5 separate regions of the Homo sapiens genome follow, and all the other regions are linked to region 3. Evidence: promoter capture Hi-C in 16 types of primary human blood cells and fetal thymus (Javierre and others, 2016). All regions are on one chromosome and are shown on one strand. Each heading gives the region's core, a stretch centred on a gene start or on the middle of the fragment in contact. The rest is flanking DNA. Distances are from core to core; before and after follow the strand shown.

Region 1 (2,793 bases), core at 114-2,613, 530 kb before region 3:
TCCTTTCTTTCTACATCTTGGGTTTCACTCACTTCTTATTTCATCTTGCATTACAGTCACTTGTGTACTTGTCTAAAGGGCAGTGACTATGTTTAACTCAACTTTATGCCCTTGTTCATACTAGTACAAAAGTAAACATTTCATAAATCTTTGTTGAATCAAATCCTACTCCTCCCCTGCTTATAAAATCTTAAATCATTTCCTATTGTCTACAGACGAAAGTAGAATCTCGTTTAATGTAGAATTTAAGACCCTTCCACGGGCTCTAGCATCAACCTTCCTTTCTTGCTCTTCTCCTGGGAGGACCTTGCTTTCCGCCCCAGATACTAGATTCTTCATCCACAGTAAGGTCCCAGTCCACTAATGTTTGGCTTTTCTCTCTGTAGCTGGGATGGCAGGTTGGTCCCACCCATTTTAGTTGCCTATAAAATTCTTTTTTTTTTTTTTTTGAGATGGAGTCTTGCTCTGTTGCCCAGGCTGGTATGCAGTGGCATGATCTTGGCTCACTGCAACCTCCGCCTCCTGTATTCAGGCAATTCTCCTGCCTCAGCCTCCCGAGTAGCTGGGATTATAGGCAACTGCCACCATGCCCGGCTAATTTTTGTATTTTTAGAAGAGACGGGGTTTCACCATGTTGGCCAGGCTGGTCTCGAACTCCTGACCTCAGATGATCCGCCCTCCTCGGCCTCCCAAAGTGCTGGGATTACAGGCGTGAGCCACCGCGCCCGGTCTGAGCCACCGCGCCCGGTCTGAGCCACCACACCCGGTCTAATTTTTGTATTTTTAGTAGAGGTGGGGTTTCACCATTTTGGCCAGGCTGGTTTTGAACTCCTGACCTCGTGATCTGCCCGCCTCGGCCTCCCAAAGTGCTGGGATTACAGGCTTGAGCCACTGCGTCCAGCCCAAACTCTTTAAGAGAAAATCTCTTGGGATCTTGAAGCCAGAAGCTTGCTTTTATTACTGAGTTTGCCCTGAATCTGTCACTTATGTACTAAAAATACATAAATTTCCTTATCCAGGTGACTTGGGCTCAACTGAAGGAAACCTGAAGCATCTAAATGTTAGCACCTAAGCCTGAGTCTAGGTGCCAGCATAGCCTGTCTTCCCTCTCCAGAGTCAGAGGCATGTTACAAACAGAATATATGGACACACGTCGAACCCCACATTGTATCTCTCTAATTTATTCAATTTAATTCAGTAAACACTCATTACCTCTTATATCCAGGCCTAGTTGAGGGTGCTGGGGATACAGGTATAAACATGACAGTTCTCTTGAGGAGCACAGAGTGGTTGTGGGAAACAGACATACAGACACACAGTTTCTTTCTTTCTTTTTTCTTTTTTTTTTTTTTTTTGAGACAGAGTCTCACTCTGTCCTTCAGGCCGGAATGCAGTGAGGTGATCTCAGCTCACCACAACCTCCACCTCCTGGGTTCAAGCGATTCTCCTGCCTCTGACTCCCCAGTAGCTGGGATTACAGTAATGCGCCACCACACCCACCTAATTTTTGTATTTTTAGTAGAGACAGGCTTTTGCCATGTTGGCCAGGCTGGTCTCAAACTCCTGAACTCAGGTGATCCGCCTGCCTCGGCCTCCCAAAGTGCTGGGATTACAGGTGTGAGCCACCATGCCCGGCCCAGACACATAGTTTCAATACAAGAAGTATATGTCAGCCAGAGAAGGGCTATCTTGAGAGTCAAGGAAGGCTCCCTGGAGGAGGTATCACTTATGCCAGTTGGTACATGAATGAGTAAATGCAAACAAGCCATGATACTGAAATAAAGCTTTGTTTAATTAACCTTCACATGTAAATTCAGCCACAGAAGACATTCTGATACATGGGGGCATTGCCAGTGATTCCACGAAACTGGATAATGTCATTGATGCTTGTGGTTGAGAGAGCTTGTTTCTGTATTGTAAGGAAGGTGGTACAACCTGGCCTTTCTTTTAAAAAAAAAAAAAAATTCAAACTGGACATGTGTCAATGAACTGACTGGAGTCTTAGGGAGGAACATTGCTCCATAGCTATATGTCTCTCCCGTTTTTTCCTGTGTTAGTCTTTTTTTTTAATTTTTTTAAAATTTTTTTGAGACAGAGTCTTGCTCTGTTGCCCAGGCTGGAGTGCAGTGGTGTGATCTTGGCTCGCTGCAAGCTCCGCCTCCCGGGTTCAAGCAATTCTCCTGCCTCAGCTTCCCAAATAGCTGGGACTACAGATGCATGCCACCATGCCTGGCTAATTTTTGTATTTTTAGTAGAGACAGAATTTCACCATGTTGGCTACACTGGTTTGGACCTCCTGACCTGAGGGGTTCCACCTGCCTCGGCCTCTCAAAGTGCTGAGATTACAGGAGTGAGCCACCTTGTCTAGCTCTTTTTTTTTTTTTCTTTTGAGACAAGTTCTTGCTCTGTCTCCCAGGCTGGAACGCAGTGGTGCAATCACAGCTCCCTGCAGCCTCGACCTCCCCAGCTCAAGTGATCTTCCCACCTCAGCCTCCCCAGTAGCTGGGGCCACAGGCATGCACCACTACGCCCAGCTAATTTTTTTTATTTTTTGTAGAGATGGTGTCTCACCATGTTGCACAGGCTGGTATCCAACTGCTGGGCTCAAGCAATCTTCCTGCCATGGCCTCCCAAAGTGCTAGGATTACAGGCGTGAGCCACTGTGCCCACGTGTTAGTCTTTACATAACTGAATAGTGACTGAAGTCTTGCAGTTTCTACCTTGCCCTGCACTGGCATTATAAGTTGTAGTAGAAATGTCACTCATTGCTTGTAATCTCATGAGAGGCCTAGT
Region 2 (2,700 bases), core at 156-2,655, 600 kb before region 3:
TTAATGTATTAGATAAACCTAGTTTCAGAATGATAAACTGTTAGACCAAATAATGTGGCTAATTAACAGTGGTACGATTTCTAGCCCGAGGGTTTAAAATGGACTTAAGGTCCTGTTGTTGCCTTTTATTTTCTGAACTTGCTGCTTTTGCATTCTTTGAGTTCAGTTTAAAGACAGTTACTTTAAGTCCATTTTAAACCCTCGGGCTAGAAATCGTACCACTGTCAATTAGCCACATTATTTGGTCTAACAGTTTTTCTTTATCATTCTGAAACTGGGTTTATCTGATACATTGATAAATTATTTCAAAGGTATTTTAATAGTTCAAATCACTTCACTTTTACATTGATAAATGTAAATGACTAGGAATGACCTTCGGATAGCGTTTAGCATCTGTAATCAATCTGACAATAATGTGTTCATCAGGTACCTCTGGATTAACTCACATACCGGCATACTTAAGCTGAATGTCTGTCTGGAAATAAATTTACTATATTAACTGAGATACTACTTTTTGTGTAGGTATTTTTGTCATATATTTAAGAAAAAGCTAACAAGGATGGAAATCATATTATAATAACTTAAGTCTTTCTTCAAAGGGCATGCAGTCTTTTGCAATACCTCATTCAGCCAGATATTTGTTCTCTTTCTCATTCAGTATAAGACAGCTTTCAATTTGCTTAGCAGGCAACATTAGAAGGTTAGAGTTCATGGAAACATAGAATTTTAAAATGTGAGTTCAACCGAATAAATTTGAATTTCTGTAGGAGGTAAAGAATCAAAATACTTGTTTATTTAAAGGTTGCAGTATATGATAATCATTTTGAAGTATTTGATTAATACTAATAGGTTTTCCAGAACTGAAAAACTAATGTTAAAACCAAAGCTGATTTCTAGAAAATTTGAAAATGTAAATCAGCCTTATCCAGAATATAGTTTCTCTAAAACTTTCTTAGTCATTTTACAATAGTATAACTATTAAAAAATGTAACTGCTATTTTAATGTTTTGAAATAAATTAAAACATTTTAAAATATGAATACTGTAGCTTAAAAGAAAGAAACTAGGGGAAGGAAAAGTAAAGAAAGAAATGCCAATTCCAGTCCAAAACTTTATTTGCCAAGTTTTCTTATAATGACTTACCAATTTAGGAATTCTTGTAAACAGAATCTATAATGGAAATACTGAAAGACTTTTGCCTAAAGTGGCATTATTGAATACTGCTGTGATGCTACTGTATGTAATAAATTATTGTTGCAAAGTGCTGTTTTTGCCTTAAATTTTTATTTTGTGTGTCTTGAAAACTATAGTATTAAAGGTATTGAGATTGTGCAAATGCCAGGCATGCTTGGCATGAAATAGTGTTTTTATTTTTACAAAATTGTAATATGACTATGCAAGCATTTAACTAATTAATTAATTTATTTATTTTGAGATGGAATTTCACTCTGTTGCCCAGGCCAGAGTGCAGTGGCACGATCTCGGCTCACTGCAACCTCCACCTCCTGGTTTCAAGCAGTTCTCCTGCCTCAGCCTCCCGAGTAGCTGGGACTACAGGTGCACGCCACCATGCCCAGCTAATTTTTGTATTTTTAGTAGAGATGGGGGTTTCACTATGTTGGCCAGGCTGGTCTCAAACTCCTGACCTCGTGATCTGCCCACCTCAGCCTCCCAAAGTGCTGGGATTACAGGCGTGAGCCACCGCGCCCGGCTGCAAGTGTTTACCAAAAGAACACATACTGAAAAAATAGTTATGGGATTTTAAAAAGTTAGGAGATTAAAAAAAGTTATGAGATTTAAAAAGTTATGAGATTAAAAAGTTATGGGATAAAGTTACGTTATGGGATAAAAAAGTTACGGGATAAAAAATGTTATGGTCAGTGGCTCACTGGGCTTACAGGTGTGAGCTACCGCCCTGGGCCTAGTTCCCTGCTTTTGGATGACCGCGATCTTCATCTCATCTTCACCTGTCTCCCCCATCAGACACTTCTCCAGGCTTTGCTGAAAGTGGCCTGCTTTTATTTATTTAATATTTATCACATAACTTTTTTTCGTAAAACTTTTTTTGGAATATTTTTCCATAACTTTTTCCATAACTTTTTTCCCACAACTTATTTCCAAAACTTTTTTATTTTTATTTTTTTGAGACGGAGTTTTGTTCTTGTTGCCCAGGCCGGAGTGCAATGGCACAATCTCAGCTCACCGGAACCTCCACCTCCCAGGTTCAAGAGATTCTCCTGCCTCAGCCTCCTAAGTAGCTGGGATTACAGGCATTCACCACCACGCCTGGCTAATTTTGTATTTTTAGTAGAGATGGGTTTCTCCATGTTGGTCAGGCTGGTCTCAAACTCCCTATCTCAGGTGATCCACCCACTTTGGGATCCCAGTACTTTGGGAGGCTGAGGCGGGCAGATCACCTGAGGTCAGGAGTTCAAGACCAGCCTGGCCAACATGGTGAAACCCTGTCTCTACTAAAAATACAAAAAATTAGCCAGGTGTGGTGGCGGGCGCCTGTAATCCCAGCTATTCGGGAGGCTGAGGCAGGAGAATTGCTTGAACCCGAAAGGCAGAGGTTGCAGTGAGCCCAGATGGCACCACTGTACTCCAGCCTGGGCAACAGAGCAAGACTCCATCTCAAAAAAAAAAAAAAAAAAAAAGTTACAGAAAAAACGTGATTAAAAAAAGTCATGGGATAAAAATA
Region 3 (2,804 bases), core at 284-2,783:
TTATCTTTTGCCCGGGTAACTTCACTGTTGCAAATTCATCATAAAATAACGTCTTAATCTGTTCGGGCTGTTAGGACAAAATACCATAAAGTAGGTAGTTTATCAACAACAGAAATGTATTTTCTCACAGTTCTGGAGGCTGGAAAGTCCATGATAAGGCATAAGCGGATTCAGTGTCGGGTGAGGGCCTGCCTGTGGTGCACAGATAGTGCCTTCTAGCTGTGTTCTCACGTGGTTGAAGGGGCCGACTCTCGGGGTCATTTGATACCGGCACTAATCCCATTCATGAGAGCTCTCCCTTCAAACTCTGTTCACCCCCAAAGGCCCATCTCCTAATACCATCATCACCTTGAGGGATTAGGATTTGAACATGAATTTGGGGGGTCACATTCAGATAATGTTATATATAACTTAAAAAGAACAAAAATGTGGAATTCATGGAGATGTTCATTGCAGTATGGATTACACTGAAAAACTGTAAACAACCTAGATGCCCAGTAAAAGGGAAACAGCCAAGAAAAGTCTGTGTCTTGTTCACTCGCTGGCAGGAAACATAGAGCAGGCACGGAAAGGAAAGGGACTCGAGGAATGCGCTGTACCGACAGGAGGCAGCACCCCTTTGCCCGAGGGGCGCAACGACAGAGACCTAAGGCTACCTGGGCCGGAGCCGGGTGAGGCCGCGGAGAACGCACCCCGCTACGCGTCTGCCGAGACGGAGGCGGGCGTTTCGACCACTGCCCGATCATGCGCTTACTCAAGTAGGATTCCGAAAAAATTCAGTCGCGCGTCCCTCCTGAGGTTCCGCAGCTGGCCAGGCCCGGCCCGGGCTGGTGCGGCTGCGCACTGCAGCCCAGCGGAGCGGGCCCGGGAGGAGCCGGGCGGGGACCGCGGCGGCCAGAGCTCCTGTCAGCTCCGCCGGGCACACGCAGGCCGGGGCGGGCGGCGCGGCTGTCCCCGCCCCGCACGCTGCTGGGCCCGGCAGCTTCAGAGGCTGGCGGACCCGCGCGGGGCCGGCGCAGCGGAGCGCGCCGGCGGCCCGGGGCCCAGCGGGAGCGCGGCAGCGGCGCGCGGAGCAGGGGGCTACGGGTGGGCGGGCGCCCGCCTTCGCCTGCGTCGCTGCCTGCACGCGGGCCGCCGTCCCCGGGCGTGTGAGAGCCGGCAGCTCGGCCGACTGGGCCCGGAGCGGCGCGGAGGCCGGGCGCTGACGGTAACGGGCCGGGTGCGCGCGCGGGAGGGCTCCGGCTGCCCCGACAGAGGCCGGGCTCGGGCGGCGGGAGTGCGAGCGCCACTGCGGCGTCAGAGGGGCCAGGAAGGGACAGGAGGCTGCCTGAGGCCCGTACCTGGCGCCTGTCTCTGCGGTCCCCGGGGCCGACGAAGTCGGAGCGGGTGGGGAGGGAGCCGGGCGGGCGGCCAGAGACCTGGCGGCAGGTGCCTGCCCTCTGTGATCCAACTCTCTCCCCAGCTCCACCCACATTGGCCTAGACCCAGTCTCTAAGGGCTGAAAATATTGCCCGGAAGCTCCCGAGCAGAATCAGATCGCGCTAAGTAGGGCACAACGCAGAGGCGACAAAGCTCCTCGGCCCCAGGGCCCGCGGAGCAGACTCCGGAGCGCGGTCCCGCCCACGCTCGGCTCCGCAGTTAGCGTCCTCCTTCCTCCTGAGCAGGCAAGCGGAGCCCGAGGGCGGTGGCGGCGGGGGGCACGGGTCCCCTGAAGTTGCCTCGCAGCTGAGCACTGGGCCCCGTCTCTCCCTTCCCAGGGGGCCTTCGGCGTCACTGCAGGCTTCCTAGGGGTCCCCTAAGTGCTCTGCAAACCGCGGCTGGAAGTTTCCCACTGCAGTGAACAGTAGAGAAACAGGGAGAACACACAGGGCTTGCTTTATGCTAGAAACACAAGCATCTTTCTTCTTTATTAGAAAGAAACTCATTCTGTGTTTCTGAGAAAGGATCGTGCCAGGCACTGTTTCTGGTGAGTGCCAGTTTGACCCGAAAGGGCACTGAGAAAGGCTTTCCTATCAGTCTCTTTGGGTTCTGGCTAAACTTTTAAATCAAACAAAATAGAGACTAGCTTATTCACCTGAAACTAGAAGCACATGGCCGAGGAGCCTGAACAGGCACCTCCTATCTAGGCAGGGAAGCTGTGTAATCAGGAGCTTGTGTGGTGCGCTCCAGTCGGAGCTGGGACTCTTATCCTGGGCCCGTTTTTCATAGCACCAGCCAAAGGAGAGCGTCCTCTCCACCCTAGCGGCAGAGCTGCTACCAGGACCAGGTGGGCCAGCCTCAGATGTGCTGCTTGTGCTACTTGGAGCCAGGCAAATGGGTGTTCCTTTGGAACAGCCCTCAGGAACTCACTGGGGTATTTGGTGGAAAGACTGCCACGGGCATTTTGCATGTTGGAGCTACAGATGGTGTCCTTCCTGCCAGGTGTGTGTGGAGGCCAGTATGAAGCTGAAAAAGCAGGTGACAGTGTGTGGGGCTGCCATCTTCTGTGTGGCAGTCTTCTCGCTCTACCTCATGCTGGACCGAGTGCAACACGATCCCACCCGACACCAGAATGGTGGGAACTTCCCCCGGGTGAGTCGTGCCTGGTTGCTAATTTCTTTGTATACAAGTCACCTGGGCTCAGGGTATGCACCTCCCACCCCGCCGCCTCCCCTCCCACCCCCCGCTGGAGGGTAATGTCAGTACAGGACAGGAGCCTTCCTTCCCAATAGTCAGGTTTTGTAGAAACCCTCAGCTAAAAACAGTGATGGCGAAAAGAAGGAAGGAAGAAAAAATGTCAATGGCAATGAGTATTGTCACTCTGT
Region 4 (2,700 bases), core at 67-2,566, 560 kb before region 3:
AGATTAAGGAATACCCAGATAGCTGAGAAAGCTTTATAGTTATGCCTGTAAGTGTGTTTGGAAGAGACTGGCATTTAAATCAGTAGACTGATAAGGAAGATCTGCCCTCACCCAGGGTGGATGGTAGCATCCACTCAGCTGAGGGCCCAGATAGTGCAAAAGGGCAGAGGAAAGGCGAATTTTCTCTCTCTCTCTTCTGAGCTGGGACACCCTTCTCCTGATGTTAGACATCAGAACTCCAGGTTCTTCAGCCTTCAGACTTCAGGACTTGCACCAGCAGCCCCTCAAGTTCTTGGGCCTTTGAACTTAAACTGACTCACACTACTGGCTTCCCTGGTTCTCTATATCTATATATCCTATTGATTCTTTCTCTCTGGAGAACCCAGACTAATACACTCACTGTGATCCTTGCCTCCAAGTATTCATACCTTTGTGTAGTCCCCTCCCACACTGTACCAGGGTTGGTCTGTGTGACCAAAGGAGTATGGCAGAAATGATGGTCTATCACTTCCAAGGTTAGATTGCAGCTTCTGCTTCTTTCTCTCAATCACTCACCCTGGGGAAGCCAGCTGACACGTTGTGAGGAGAAGCTACACGTGAGGAAACAGTCACATGAGGGAGCTTGGGAGCAAGCTGATCATCCAGCCCCAGTCAATCCTACAGATAACTGTAGTCCCAGCCAGTGTCTAGACTGCAACCTTGTGAGAGACCTTCAATTAGAGATACTCACCTAGGCTGTTCCAGATTCCTAATCAACAGAAATAAAATAATTTTTTTTGAGACAGGGTTTCACTCTGTCTTCCAGGCCAGAGTGCAGTGGTGCCATCCTGGCTCACTGCAGCCTCAATCTCCCCAGGCTCAAGTGATCCTCTTACCTCAGCTTCCCAGGTAGCTGAGACTACACGTACGCATCACCAAACCCAGCTGATTTTTTTATTTTTAGTAGAGACGAGGCCTTGCCATGTTGCCCAGGCTGGTCTTGAACTCCTGGGCTCAAGCAATCCTCCTGCCTCAGCTTCCCAAAGTGCTGGGATTACAGGCATAAGCCACTGCACCTGGCAAATGTTTTGTTTTGTTTTTTAAGGTAAGCAATTATTTCATTTCCTTGGTGAAGGGGTGGCCTGCCCCTCCACACCTGTGGGTATTTCTAGTCGGGTGGGACAAGAGACTGAGAAAACAAATAAGACACAGAGACAAAGTATAGAGAAACAACAGTGGGCCCAGGGGACCGGCACTCAACACACCAAGGACCTGCACTGGCACCGGCCTCTGAGTTCCCTCAGTTTTTATTGATTATTATTTTCATTATTTCAGCAAAAAGGAATGTAGTAGGAGAGCAGGGTGATAATAAGGAGAAGGTCAGCAAAAAACATGTGAGCAAAGGAATCTATGTCATAATTAAGTTCAAGGGAATGTACTATGACTGGACGTGCACGTAAGCCAGATTTATGTTTCTCTCCACCCAAACATCTCAGCGGAGTAAAGAATAACAAGGCAGCATTACTGCAAACATATCTCGCCTCCCACCATAGGGCGGTTTTTCTCCTATCTCAGAATTGAACAAATGTACAATCGGGTTTTATACCGAGACATTCAGTTCCCAGGGGCAGACAGGAGACAGTGGCCTTCCTCTATCTCAACTGCAAGAGGCTTTCCTCTTTTACTAATCCACCTCAGCACAGACCCTTTACGGGTGTCGGGCTGGGGGACAGTCAGGTCTTTCTCATCCCACGAGGCCATATTTCAGACTATCACACGGGGAGAAAACTTGGACAATACCCCGCTTTCAAGGGCAGAGGTCCCTGCAGCTTTCCACAGTACATTGTGCCCATGGCTTATTGAGACTAGAGAATGGCGATGACTTTCACCAAGTATACTGCTTGTAAACATTTTGTTAACAAGGCACGTCCTGCACAGCCCTGGATCACTTAAACCTTGATTTTATACAACACATGTTTTTGTGAGCTCCAAGTTGGGTCACAGTGGTTGGGTCAAAGTGGCTGGGGCAAAGCTACAAATTAACAACATCTCAGCAAAGCAATTGTTTAAAGTACAGGTCTTTTTCAAAATGGAGTCTCTTATGTCTTTCCTTTCTACATAGACACAGTAACAGTCTGATCTCTCTTTTCCCTTCACTTGGCCTGACAGCATTGACTTCATTACACAAGAACTTGCAGCTGACAGAACTGACACACAGATTTCCCCCAAGAGGAAGAACCCTTTTCATTTGCAGAGATGAATTGAAATGTCATGTCTGAGTGCAATTCCTGCTCCCCACTCCCACCCCACAAAATCCTATAAGTGATAATAAATCAATAAAATCCCCATGATTTACTAAAAGTCATCCCTGCAAACCTTTCTAACTAGCAGCTGCAGTGGATAACCAAGAAGGGAAGCAGCTGGCCATCACATAGCATTCCTGTGAGTGTGAGAATGAAGGGACAGCAGCATGGGAGCGAGAATCCTGAATGAGTGAGAGGTATAGATAATCTACCTCACTTCATACCTGCCCCTTCCCTACATAAGACATCTCTGTCCTGATACATGGAAAATACTAGAGGAGATGGTAGAAGTGGTTTTAGTCTGCAATTGGAAATGCCTGAAGCTTATTAAATTCCAAGGTAGGGGTGAGATGAGGAGCACCAGAGAGAAAGAGCAGGTTAGACAGAGATGCTCAACTCACTCTGTCAATTCCAGTTT
Region 5 (2,740 bases), core at 129-2,628, 580 kb before region 3:
CGTCTCTACTAAAAAGACAAAATTAGCAGGGGGTGGTGGTGCATGCCTGTAATCCCAGCTACTTGGGAGGCTATTATTTTTAGTAATAATAATAATTTAGTAATTTTTGTATTTTGTATTTTCACCATGTTGGTCAGGCTTGTCTTGAACTCCTGACCTCAGGTGATTCACCCACCTCGGCCTCCCAAAGTGCTGGGATTACAGGTGTGAGCCACCACGCCCCGCCACCAAAACCAGTTTTATTGAGGCAGCAGTGTTACCGCTCTGTAACTGCTCCTGCAGGAAGAGCTAGCCCATAGTCAGTGTGTGGAGAGTAGCAGCTAAGGGGCAGTTCCACAGTCATATTTATACCCACTTTTAATTACATGCAAATTAAGGGATGGGTTTTTCAGAAATTTCTAGGAAAAGGGTATAACTCCCAGGTTGTTGCCATGGAAAGGGGCAGTAACTTCTGGGTGTTGCCAGGGCACTGGTAAACTGACATGGCACTGGTGGGCATGTGTTATGGAGAGGTGCTTTCCCCTCTTCCCTGTTTCAGCTAGTCTTCAATCTGGCCTGGAGTACAGGCCTGCCTCCTGCCTCACAACTGCTGCTAATCAGGATGTATACTGAGGGTAACTTGACTCTATGCTCCCAGTTTGCAATATCTAGCTTGGCCCAAATAGATCCTCTGTCTTACTATTGTTATTTATTTTTTTTTAAGAGAAAAGGTCTTGCTCCTGTTGCCCAGACTGGAGTGCAGTGGCAGGATCTTAGCTCACCATAACCTCGAACTCCTGGGCTCAAGCAATCCTCCTGCTTCAGCCTCCTGAGTAGCTGGGACTACAGACATGAGCCACCATGCCTGGCTAATTTTTAAATTTTTTGTACAGATGGGGTTTCACTATGCTGCCCAGGCTGTTCTCAAACTCCTGGCAAGCAATCCTCCCAACTCAGCCTCCCAGAATCCTCGATTACAGGAGTGTACCACTATGCCCAGCCCCAGATAAATTCTCTACTTATATTAATTTTGCTTCAGCTTCCTTCTAGGTTGACAGTTCCCAGTTGACTCTCAAAATGTTTGTGAAATTAAGCAATTTCACTGGGGCATGGTGGCTCACACCTGTAATCCCAGCACTTTGGGAGGCCCAGGTGGGCAGATCTCTTGAGGTCAAGAGTTTGAGACCAGACTGGCCAACATGGTAAAACCCTGTTTCTACTAAAAATCCAAAAAAAAAAAAAAAAAAAAAAAGTCAACCAGGCATGGTAGCGCACGCCTGTAATCCCAGCTACTCGGGAGGTTGAGGTGGGAGAATCACTTGAACCCAAGAGGCGGAGGTTGCAGTGAGCCGAGATCATGCCACTGCCCTTCAGCCTGGGCAACAGAGAGAGACTTCATTTAAAAAAAAAAAGGCAATTTATTTAGTGATGTAAAAGTTTTCATGGATATATAAGGGAATCAGGGAGTCCTCAAGGCGGAAGAAGGTGAAGGAACAGAGCAGGGGAGGAAGAGGAGGGAGGAGAATCTCCCCCAGGCTGAGCAGACCAGGGCACTGAGCTCCAGATGTTTGCACCCCTCCTTTGTTTTCCCCATCTCTTCCCTACTCTCCAGGCCAGTCAGATGGCAAGGCCTGGACAACTGGAAGGAAAGAGAATGAAGGATGGAACTGGGGCGGCAGCTGTGTTGGCCACACAGGCCCTTCTGACTGGGCAGCATGGAGGCCACTTCTGCCAGCCTGAGAGTTGCAGAAGTAGATGGCAGGGAATCCCCTGCTTGGGGATGACACAGTAGGTAGATTAGAAAGTTGGAGAACAGGAACCGTAAGCCACTAGCAGGAACATGGTTGAAGAGCCGACCGTGGAGTCCAGACTGAGGGAGGAGGTAGAAAAGGAACAATAAGCAAGGAAGCAGAGGAGGCTGTGGCAAGGATAATGGGCAGCCCCAGTTATTCTAAGGGAAAAGGAGAGATGGAGTTGAGAGGCTGAAATGGAAGCAGCTCTGTGATGTGGCTGGCCTTTCGAGGTTACTGGAGCAGAGGAGGTAAAGGGACCATGAGCACAGGTGGTGGTGCTGTAATTAATAAGGATGAGGCCGGGCACGGTGGCTCACACCTGTAATCCCAGCACTTCAGGAGGCCACGGCAGGTGGATCACTTGAGGTCAGGAGTTCTAGACCAGCCTGGCCAACGTGGTGAAACCCCATCTCTACTAAAAATACAAAAAATTAGCTGGGTGTGTGGCGGGCACCTATAATCCCAACTACTCAGGGGGCTGAGGCAGGAGAATCACTTGAACCCGGGACACGGAGGTTGCAGCAAGCTGAGATCGTGCCATTGGACTCCAGCCTGGGCGACAATAGCGAAACTCCGTCCCCCCACCAAAAAAAATAATAAAATAAATAAGTATGCTGAAGCCACTGAGGATGAGAGCAAGACACTGGGATAAGGGGAGCCTGGTAGCCAGGTCCTAAAGCCATTCCAGAGGGCTGCAGAATGGCCCAGAGAAGAAGTTCTCAGCTAAGGCATGGCACTAATGACTAATCGATGGTTGTAATCATTTCTTCCTTTTTTTTTTTTTTTGAAACAAGGTCTTGCTCTGTCACCCAGGCTGGAGTGCAGTGGCACAATCATGGCTCACTACAGCCTTGACTCCTGGGTTCAAGCAATCCCCCTTCCTTAGCTTCCCAAAGTAGCATTACAATCAGCACCAGGAATTGAGCCCAGCTGAACTGAGCCACCATACGCATAGCAACTACAATTGA

The links. The method cuts DNA at HindIII sites, captures the fragments that hold promoters and counts their contacts. A CHiCAGO score of 5 or more calls a contact.
Region 1: a fragment that was not itself captured here is called in contact with the fragment with the promoter of MAN2A2 in region 3 in 1 of 17 cell types (naive B cells); the score reaches 5.1 in naive B cells.
Region 2: a fragment that was not itself captured here is called in contact with the fragment with the promoter of MAN2A2 in region 3 in 1 of 17 cell types (activated CD4 T cells); the score reaches 6.5 in activated CD4 T cells.
Region 4: a contact is called between a fragment that was not itself captured here and the fragment with the promoter of MAN2A2 in region 3, in 1 of 17 cell types (activated CD4 T cells). The highest score is 5.8, in activated CD4 T cells.
Region 5: a contact is called between a fragment that was not itself captured here and the fragment with the promoter of MAN2A2 in region 3, in 9 of 17 cell types (total B cells, erythroblasts, activated CD4 T cells and 6 more). The highest score is 8.8, in total B cells.

The regions. Positions count from the first base shown.
Region 1 is chr15:90,372,211-90,375,003 of GRCh38, forward strand. No RefSeq gene overlaps it. Among named protein-coding and RNA genes, the nearest start is that of IQGAP1, 15 kb to the right of the region's middle. The HindIII fragment of the contact is 837 bases long and covers 946-1,782 here.
Region 2 is chr15:90,297,640-90,300,339 of GRCh38, forward strand. It overlaps the pseudogene GOLGA2P8. Among named protein-coding and RNA genes, the nearest start is that of NGRN, 33 kb to the left of the region's middle. RefSeq lists a silencer at 2,482-2,674. The HindIII fragment of the contact is 8,093 bases long and covers 1-2,700 here.
Region 3 is chr15:90,901,769-90,904,572 of GRCh38, forward strand. It overlaps MAN2A2 (mannosidase alpha class 2A member 2), which reads left to right and starts at 1,534. Exons shown (of 23, transcript NM_006122.4): 1 at 1,534-1,664; 2 at 2,422-2,571. The coding sequence starts at 2,440. RefSeq lists enhancers at 575-624, 2,465-2,524 and silencers at 795-1,064, 1,085-1,514. The HindIII fragment of the contact is 23,300 bases long and covers 1-2,804 here.
Region 4 is chr15:90,345,452-90,348,151 of GRCh38, forward strand. It overlaps the pseudogene GABARAPL3. Among named protein-coding and RNA genes, the nearest start is that of ZNF774, 5.5 kb to the right of the region's middle. The HindIII fragment of the contact is 2,574 bases long and covers 30-2,603 here.
Region 5 is chr15:90,324,130-90,326,869 of GRCh38, forward strand. No RefSeq gene overlaps it. Among named protein-coding and RNA genes, the nearest start is that of ZNF774, 27 kb to the right of the region's middle. The HindIII fragment of the contact is 8,593 bases long and covers 1-2,740 here.